3 separate regions of the Homo sapiens genome follow, and regions 1 and 3 are each linked to region 2. The links are contacts of gene promoters, found by promoter capture Hi-C in blood cells and fetal thymus (Javierre and others, 2016). All regions are on one chromosome and are shown on one strand. Each heading gives the region's core, a stretch centred on a gene start or on the middle of the fragment in contact. The rest is flanking DNA. Distances are from core to core; before and after follow the strand shown.

Region 1 (3,028 bases), core at 81-2,580, 1.1 Mb before region 2:
AAACATAGAAGAACCCAAAATTAAATATTAATTGAACTTCTTGAACATTCCTGGCACTGTTCTGGCCACTGGGAATACAACTGTGAACAAGATTAATTCTTTGACCTCATGGAGTTTACACTCTAATGCGGGGAATCAGACCGAAAATAAACAAACTGATTCAGTAAATATGATTTCAGATCATGAAAAGTGCTACGATGAAAATAAAACAGGATACTGGAGCAGAGTGATAGGGCAGGGGGTGACTTTAGCAAGTAGGCTTAAGGAAGTACTCCTCCTACCCCACGCAGACCCTCAATCTTGCTTTAGCCCTTTTCTGAGATCTTCTATCCTAACCTGCTCCTACGTTCAGCAAAGTGTCATCAGTGGTTGCAGGATTCTTTGCTTCTTTCCTGTCCGTGTAATCTGTCTACTCCTCCAGTGGTCTTCTTAACCACTACAGGTCCCCTAGATCCTGCCTCATTCAGTGGACTCCAGTTCTTGGATGAACTGCTAGTTTCCAAGCCCTCATTCTATCTAACCCAGTCCCTTTCACCTTCAGCAAGCAGGGAGCATCTCTCATTGGGCTCAACAACTCAGGGATCCCAGGCCCTTGGTAAGCAGGTGTTTCCTCCTCCCTTTCACGCTGGAAGTGAATAGCTCCAGCTGGCAGGCGACACTCATAGCGCTGTTTGTACTTAGAGGAGACAATCACCACGTCCGAAGATTGGCTCTGGGAAAGAAGGGAGGGTCGGGGGGCAAGGAAGCAAAGAAAGGCTGGGATCAGGGAGAACAACGAAATCCCTCTTCAAACCCTGGGGAAGAGATCAGTCGAAGACAGAATAAGCCATAAGCCCTCCAGCTGTATTTAGTGGGTGAGAGGAGAGGGCGCTCCCATTTCTCCACGGGGGCGGAGTCCGGGTGTTTCGATCATAAACTGAGACCTGAAGGTTGACAGCGGGAAGCCCCACCTCTCCCAATTCCTGGCCCCCAGAGAATTGGTCTCAGTCTGCGACCCCCAGGGGTCACCGTAAAAGCAATACCTACTCTTCCCGATTCCCCGTAGGCTCCAGCCCCAGACTCCGGAGCTGCCCTTCTTCCTCTATCTCTTACCCGCTTCCTCTTCTGCCCAGACCCTCGCCCCTTATACGCCTCTCACCTGCCCTCCCATGACAGGCAACGGCAGGATCTCGATCCCATAACGCATCTCACTCAGCTCCTCCAGGTTCAGGCTCCCGACACCGCCGGTCAGACTTGCGGGTAACAGGAGTCCCAGAAGCAGCAGTCCTAACAAACTGGACAGCAGCGTTTCCGCCGCCATCTTTCGTTCCCCTTCTTATGCAGAGAATCTGTTTCCGCCCTAAGCCAGGCAGCGGCCTCAACACGCCCATCGGCGCCACATGATTTTATTGGCTGTACGTTCTATCCCTCCCACGTACCCTATTCCTATTTGTAAACGTGGCTCCAAGGTCCTGGGGAGGTGGATCACGACGATTAGAAATATCAATCGCTGTCCGTGATTGGTCAGAGACCAGCCAATCATCGACAAGATCAAACCCCTCCTCGTTCCCCAATTTCAGAGGCGTGGTCTATGCGCTTGGTCCTTTTAAGTTTGCCCTCTGTCTTCGCCCAGCTGTCATGCGCATCTCATTGCTTTTTCAGACGTCTCTTGCATTATATCCTGCCCACCGCCGGGCGGAGTATTGAGGCAGATAGGTAGCGTGCGCAGTGCCGGTGAAAGTTATTAAATGCTTGTTGCAAAACAAACAATTATTATACGGACGCTTACCTCTTTTCATATATACATATTGCTTTGAGGCAATCAGAAAATTTGTGTCAAAACCTTCCTATACGATCCTGCAGTTGACCTCCAGTAAAATGACCTCCAGTAAAAATCCTAGAGAAATAATGCGGGCAGCCAGACGTGGTGGCACGCACCTGTGGTATCAGCTACTCCGGAGGCTGAGGCAGGAGGATCTCCTGAGCCCAGGAGTTCAAGTGCAGCCTGCGCAACACAGCGAAACCCCGTCTCAAATAAGTACGTACATACATACATACATACATACATACATACATACATACATACATGCATACATGGGCTTCCAGTTAAGGTGAAATTATGTATTACTCTCCAGGCCGTAAGAAAGGGAAAGGAGACAACAACAGCAACATTTTGGAAGCTGGAAATCAAACAGAAGAATGTTAACTGGTTTAGCAAACTTGAGAATATTTATTACGAAACAAAGGTAAACAAGAGGCTGATTATACCTTTGGAAAACCCTCTCTGGGGAATCTCACCAGCCAAAACGAAAAATCCCAAAGATACCCTTATCAGAGTTCTCTTAATGATATAGATAACTAGAATGAATTCCACATGTAACACTTTGGCCTACGTGCCCCAGCCCTCATTCCACTTTCCAATCAGCTTTTTAGTGTTCTTACTCTTCAAAATAAATAGCCAGAGATCATTAGACATTTAAGGAAGGACTTTAATATACAAGTAAGAAACAAACAAGAAGGGAAAAGCAAATGAGAGGAAACATAAATTGCAAGGGAGGGGAAAAAACACTAAAAATAAAAAATTTAAAAATAGGCCGGGCACGGTGGCTTACGCCTGTAATCCCAAAACTGTGGGAGTCCGAGACGGGCGGATCACTTGAGGTCAGGAGCTCAAGACCAGCCTGGCTAACGTGGTGAAACCCCGTATCTACTAAAAATACGAAAATTAGCTGGGCATGGTGGCACGCGCCTATAGTTCCAGCTACTCAGGAGGCTGAGGCAGAAGAATTGATTGAACCTGGGAGGCGGAAGTTGCAGTGAGCTGAGATTGCGGCACTGCATTCCAGCCTGGGCCACAGAGCTAGACTCCGTCTGAAACAACAAAGCATTTAAAAATAATCCATCATCAGACTTCTCAAAGAGATATTATAGAGCATTCATAAAATAACAACAGGAAACTACTTGAGAGTAACTACTATTCGGATAAGCAAAAAGAGCTCTTGGAAACTAAAACCATGTTACAGAAATAAAAATTCTATAAAAAGGCTGG
Region 2 (3,049 bases), core at 471-2,970:
CCCTCCACTGGTAATCTACTTATCTCGAGAGAGGAAGAGAAACCCCCTTAGCCTTCTGTGTCTGTGGCCCACACACTCTGTGAGCCTTTGCTAAAGCTAGCTTCCTTCTTATCCTCTCTGAGCCATTTGTAGTGGGGGGGTGGAGGGGTGGAGTCTTTCCCCAAAATTCAGGAAGAGCCCACCCCTCTGTGGAGTAAGGAAATCCAATGTAGACTGATGGATCTCACCCCCCAACTCTGCCCATTTTTCAGATCTCTTTCCTCCTCAGACCCCCAGAGGAAAACGTATTTGTTGACACCCCAACTTGCCAGAGTTTCATCATCCCCACTCTGTTGCTTTTCCAGAATATTCAGCAGCCTGAGCTTTGCACAGTTTAGGCAACTGTTTCTAGAACTGCATTGCATTGAATTAAATGGGAATTATCTTCAAGGCTGCAAAGTGTTGAGTTGCAAGGAAAGGAAACCTGGTTTCCTTTCTTGTCATATTTTATCCACTGTTTGACATTGAAGAAGTCATTGAACCTCTTTGGGTCTTAATTTCTTCATTTGATGAAGGAGAGAAGGTTGAACTAGAATTTTTTTTTTTTTTTTTTTTTGAGATAGAGTCTCCCTCTGTCACCCAGGCTGGAGTGCAATGGCGCGATCTCAGTTCACTGCAACCTCCACCTCCCAGGTTCAAGCGATTCTCTTGCCTCGGCCTCCTGAGTAGCTGAGATTACAGGGGCACGCCACCACACCCAGCTAATTTTTGTATTTTTAGTAGAGACCGGGTTTCATCATGTTGGTCAGGCTGGTCTTGAACTCCTGACATCATGATCCACCTGCCTCGGCCTCCCAAAGTGCTGGGATTACAGCCGTGAGCCACCGCGTCCGGCCTGAACTAGAAATTCTCTAAGCTCTAACATCATATGACACTGTTCTTCATCCTGGTGCCCTGCAGTGGACATTTTAGGTGACAGCCAAACTCTAGTCCTCTGCTAGATTTTACTTTTCTGAGTTTTCACACAGTTATGTAGCCCTGTCAGAAAAAAATTCCCAGAACCATAGAATGGGTGGACATTTGTGGCATCTTTTTGCTGATTAGTTTTCAGCTTATCCTTTACTTCTCTGACTGCATTTAGGCTACACTCAGGTCTTTGCTGTCTGGTTCCAGAGCCGAACCTTCTTTCCCCCACGCACAGGAATCTTTCCTTTCCGGTGACCAGGGCCCTGCAGATGTCGCCAGGAAAGTGGTGATCCAGGCAGGACCAGGCTGCACTGAAGGGACAGAGGTGAGTGGGTGGCTGACTCTTGCCTCTCCCCATCCCTTTACTGAATCGCGACCTGAGTGACTAACCTTTCTATTTCCACGTTTCCATTACCCTACCTGGGAAATAACTGCCCCCGAAATTCCCCTGACTCTTACCCCTACCAGCCTGTTAGAGAAGTGGCACCTGCCTTTGGGCCTAGACGTTTGGTCTAGTCTTTTAAGTTAACCTTGGGACTGTGGCATGCCTTTCAGTTTGCCCTGTGTGAAGCAGGACCACTGCCTCCATGAGATGCGGGTGCAGAGGGAGCTGCCAGGTGGGCAAGGTGGCCAGAGTTGCAGGAGGCACAGCGGCGCTAGGACCCAGGTCCGGGTCGGAAAGATGGGCTGGCGGGCTTTAGGACCCTGTGGCGGAGGCCGCGTGGGGAGACTCTCTCCCGGCCGAGGCTTCTCCGCCCCCTCCGGCTCCGACTCACTCCTCCCCCGCCGGCCATGTTGGCTCCTCTCGGGCCCCGCGGTTGAGCCGCGTCCCCCTCCCCCTTCCCGAACCCCGGACCCCAGACCCCCTCCCCAGCGGGCGTCTCCACCCGTTCTGGCGCCCGGAGCGCGGCCATGTGAACCGCTTGTACCCCGGGGAGAGACGAGCCCCGAGCCCGGCTGGACGCCGCTGCCTCAGGTTTGTGGGGTCTGTGGCCAGGGGCCTGAGGGGGAGGGAGCCCCGCTTTCATCCGAGGCTTCCCTCGGGGAACAGAAGCTCCAGAGCCGGCTTGAGCCTTGCCGGGGCGGGAAGCCGACGGGAGCTTATTTCCTGCGAGGATCCAACCCGAGGCGAGGGTCTCCTTGCTCTGGGGTCTGGGAGGAGAACAGGGCTGGTGGGGCTGCTGAGGACCCCGGACGGGGCCGCGGGGGCAGGAGGAGCTGTAGGGGCTCCCGGCGACAGTGAGGAGGCGGAGAAGCCGCCTGGCTGGTGGAGATGACTCCTGTGGGGGACTTGGGGTGGAATCCCCGGGAGGGGCTCCACCTCCTCGGGTGGGGGTGGGGATTGCCTGAGCGCGAGGGGTGGGTGAGGGGGTTCCCTTGGCGGGTTAAAACGCTCCGTTTGCGGGGAGCTGGGCGTTTTGACTGTGGTGAGTGGAGGGCGGAAGGGGTTTCCAGGGGTCTGAGGGTGTCTCCCTCGGGGAGCGCACCCATTCTCTTGAGCGTGAAGATCAGGAGAGGGCCTTCCTTGCTGAGGGTGGTGCTGCGCTTGGCTTGGGGCCCTCGCGTCCCGGGAGAATCGCGCACTCCGGGGATGGAGGTTGATAGGGCTTCCGCTGAGGCTTTCCAATTTGAGCTGGGCTGAGGGGCAGAAGGGAAGAATAAAGAGGAATTCCTTTTTCCAAGGAGATTCCTCACTGAGGGGATCCCCGCTTCCGTGGCAGAAAGATGATACCGCATCATCCCTTTCTTTCCCGGTGTTCCCAGTTTTCAGGAGAAGGCAATGTCAATAGCAGTTGTCCTTTGTAGGGTTAATTGGAGTGAGAGATTTGTCTGCTTTGGGGGACGACGGAGGGGATAGCTTTCCACCTCTATCTGTACACAAACAGCCCCTCCCCCAGCCTCCCGCAGGAAGTGGCCGGGAAATGGCAGCTGTGCGTTTGCTGCTGCGTGTCTTGTTGTTTTGAAATGTCCATTTTAATCAGATTTGGTTTCATTTTCTGAAGCCTTCTGGGCAAGCTTGGATCTTGCCAACCATGTGGCCCGAGAGACCTTTCGTTGGACTTTTTTTTTTTTTGTAAACTTGTCAACTGGAAGTAGTCAACTT
Region 3 (3,060 bases), core at 3-2,502, 1.3 Mb before region 2:
CCACAGCAGTTCTTAACCTTTGTGGGGTCGTTGGCCTCTTTGAGAATATGATGAAGCTATTAACTCTCTCCCCCGACCAAAAAAAAATACACTTTGGGCCGGGCGCAGTGACTCACGCCTGTAATCCCAGCACTTTGGGAGGCCGAGGCAGGCAGATCACGAGGTCAGGAGATCAAGACCATCCTGGCTAACACGGTGAAAACCCGTCTCTACTAAAAATACAAAAAATTAGCAGGGTGTGGTGGCGAGCGCCTGTAGTCCCAGCTACTCGGGAGGCTGAGGCAGGAGAACGGCGTGAACCCAGTAGGCGGAGCTTGCAGTGAGCAAAGATCGCGCCACTGCACCCCAGCCTGGGCGACAGAGCGAGACTCCGTCTCAAAAAAAAAAAAAAAATGCACTTAGGGGCACACACACACACATACACACGATTTCACAGACCATTTCAGGGATTTCTACGCTCTGAAGCCCATTCATGCATGAACCACTTCCAAGGAACGGTAGGTTTGCAAAACTGCTTTTATATTTTTACAGCCTTGGTATGCCTTAATTACATTTTTACATTTTTACAGCCTTTGTGTGCCTTAATTAACCTGGCTGGCACTTTAAAACTTGGCCTCACCCTTACCCTGAAGTCACAGTGTGGCTGCATAACTTATGTAAGAAATCGGAGGATCTGTCACAACAGTGAGTGACAAAAAAGGGCAGACAAATTCATTCCACAAGCCAAAAACAGCGACGAAAAGGGTCTCAGCGCCACCTCTAGTGGGGAAACTGAGCCTCAGGCTCCCAACCCAGCCCCCATGATGCCCAGTCTGTCTAGACTCTGTGCTGAACCTGAAGCCCCTGGCCAGGTGTTGCCCAGGCCCTTCCTCGCCCACCCGGTCTCAGACCCATTCTGTGGAACCACAGCCTCCAGGTCATGGCTCCTACTTGTCTCCAGCGTCTTCAGGAGCCTAAGCTGGCACTTCTGGTTGCTGGTGAAGAAGCTGGAGAAGAACCCTTGCTGGGGATTCCCCTGGGCCAGACGCTCGGGGAAGACCTGGCAAGAGACGTGTTGCTGCTGCAGCTGCTCCCCTGCCGCGGGGCCCCGCCGGCGCTCGTCCGGAGCTCCCGCCATGCCTCCCGCAGACCTCGCCGCTGCTTCCTCCTGGCTCAGGCGGCCAGAGCGAGACTGGGAAAGGTAACCTCCCTCCCGCCAACGCGACCGCCCAGGCCCTCCCTCCGCAGGGAAGAAGGGCAGCCTGGCTGGGCTGAAGACGTTAGGCGGGAGGGGGCTTTGAACCTGACGGGGAGCGCGGGAGGCGGGGCGAGAGGCGAGGGGCGGGGCGAGAGGCGAGGGGCGGGGCGAGGGATGAGGGGCGGGGCGAGGGCATGGGGCGGGGCGCGGGGCCCGATGCTGTTGGGCGGAGCTGGGTCTTGCGACTTCCCTCAAAGGCTGTAACAACCCGGCTGCCGCGGATTTCGCTGCTGCCCTCCCAGTGTGGGTGACATGTCTTTATAAGCGTTGTTCTGCAGCTTCCTGCTGCCTGCTGAGCTCTAAGGGTGTCCCGCCTCCTCGCAGACACTCCTTCCTCACCTCGGGGCGAATATTGGCCACTAACTGCTCTTGTGCCGCCGAAGGTCTCGGCCATCCTCCCACTCCCTGCCTTCTTCCGGGGCAAGCCAGTTGTCATTTCTGGCCCGCCACTTTCCCGACCCCTGCCATCCCTCAGATCCACTCTGCCCAAAGATGCCTCTGGCCATATTGAAAGCAGTGTTTTTCAGAAACGTTTTAAAACTATAAAGAATGACTAGTCACATCAAAATCCTCAAAATGTAGGAACCAACTACATTTTTTCTTCCCACCTGTACCCATTCGTTTACCCTACTCTTCTGCCCCACCCCCCACCAATAACTCCCTGATAACAAAGCGCACCCTGTTTACTTCTACCTCTCAGCCTTAACTCATACTGTCATTTCCATCTTTAAGCTCCTTGCCTCAGCCCCTATGATTGGGGCCCAGGTCAAATCTGCCTACTCCACAGGGCATTCCCAGATACCTTAATCAAAATTAATGTCTCCTGATCTCCCAATGTACAAAGCACTTTGTACCTGTTAATCATTTTCATCGTAGCCTGCCAGGTTTTATCCAATTTGTGTGTTTCTCTTTTCCTACTAAATTATTCCACTCAGCTCACACATTTATTCAGCACCTACTATGATGGGCCAGGCAAGGTGTAAGAGACTGAGGAAACACATGACTAAGAAAATTGCTAAAGATGAAGAGCAGCATGTGGTTTATGTAAGAAACATATCTGAAAAATATAGGCTCAGCAGGCCTTTAGGGTTATGAACAGTGCTTTATGTGTCATAGATGCTCAATATCTAAATTGAGTGGGATGCTAGGATAGTCATTCATCTGGAATATTATAAAAATACAAACAACTCCTATGTACATAGACTATTAAAGCCAGAAGTCAAAAAAAAAGTAACTACTTTTTAATTAAATTCACCTTGGATACATTATTTCCAATCCTCACTACAACCCTGCAAAGTAAGTATTATCTCTAATTTGCAGATAAAGTGGGCTCAGCAAAATTCAATAATTTATCTAGGACCACACAACTAGCTTTCAATCCAGTTATTGAACTAAAACACACATATGGAAAACTAAGCCATTACAATTCAGTGTGATTAGTTTGGAATACTGAAGGCAGGCTAGATATGCCTAGAAATGGACCATAGCCTATATACATTTGAAATACTATTTGGATTTTTTTCATGCTTTCTTTTTTAATACATAGATTCAGGTGGTTTATGTGTAGGTTTATTATACAGATATATTGTGTAGTGGTGAGGTCTGGGCTTCTAGTGTACCCATCACCCAAACAGTGAACATTGTACCCAATAGTTAATTTTTCAACCCTCACCCTTCCCCTCCCACTCTCCCCACTTTTGGAGTCCCCAGTGTCTATTATTCCCCTCTGTATGTCCACGTGCACTCAGTCTTTAGCTTCCACTTATAAGTGAGAACATGGGGTGTTTGATTTTCTGCTTCTGAGTTATTTCACTTAGGATAAT

The links. Contacts are between HindIII fragments. The CHiCAGO score rates a contact against its expected background, and 5 or more counts as called.
Region 1: a contact is called between the fragment with the promoter of OS9 here and the fragment with the promoter of BAZ2A in region 2, in 2 of 17 cell types (monocytes and non-activated CD4 T cells). The highest score is 7.0, in monocytes.
Region 3: a contact is called between the fragment with the promoter of ATP23 here and the fragment with the promoter of BAZ2A in region 2, in 1 of 17 cell types (neutrophils). The highest score is 6.9, in neutrophils.

Annotation. Positions count from the first base shown.
Region 1 is chr12:57,692,434-57,695,461 of GRCh38, reverse strand. It overlaps OS9 (OS9 endoplasmic reticulum lectin), which reads right to left and starts at 1,330. Exons shown (of 15, transcript NM_006812.4): 1 at 1,139-1,330; 2 at 536-712. The coding sequence starts at 1,300. RefSeq lists enhancers at 1,090-1,139, 1,127-1,701. The HindIII fragment of the contact is 11,057 bases long and covers 1-3,028 here.
Region 2 is chr12:56,628,997-56,632,045 of GRCh38, reverse strand. BAZ2A (bromodomain adjacent to zinc finger domain 2A) reads left to right here and starts at 1,720. Exons shown (of 29, transcript NM_001300905.2): 1 at 1,720-1,921. RefSeq lists enhancers at 1,414-1,483, 1,514-1,563 and a silencer at 1,784-2,133. The HindIII fragment of the contact is 7,835 bases long and covers 1-2,963 here.
Region 3 is chr12:57,939,759-57,942,818 of GRCh38, reverse strand. ATP23 (ATP23 metallopeptidase and ATP synthase assembly factor homolog) reads right to left here and starts at 1,252. Exons shown (of 6, transcript NM_033276.4): 1 at 931-1,252. The coding sequence starts at 1,117. RefSeq lists enhancers at 1-117, 574-1,383. The HindIII fragment of the contact is 6,393 bases long and covers 1-3,060 here.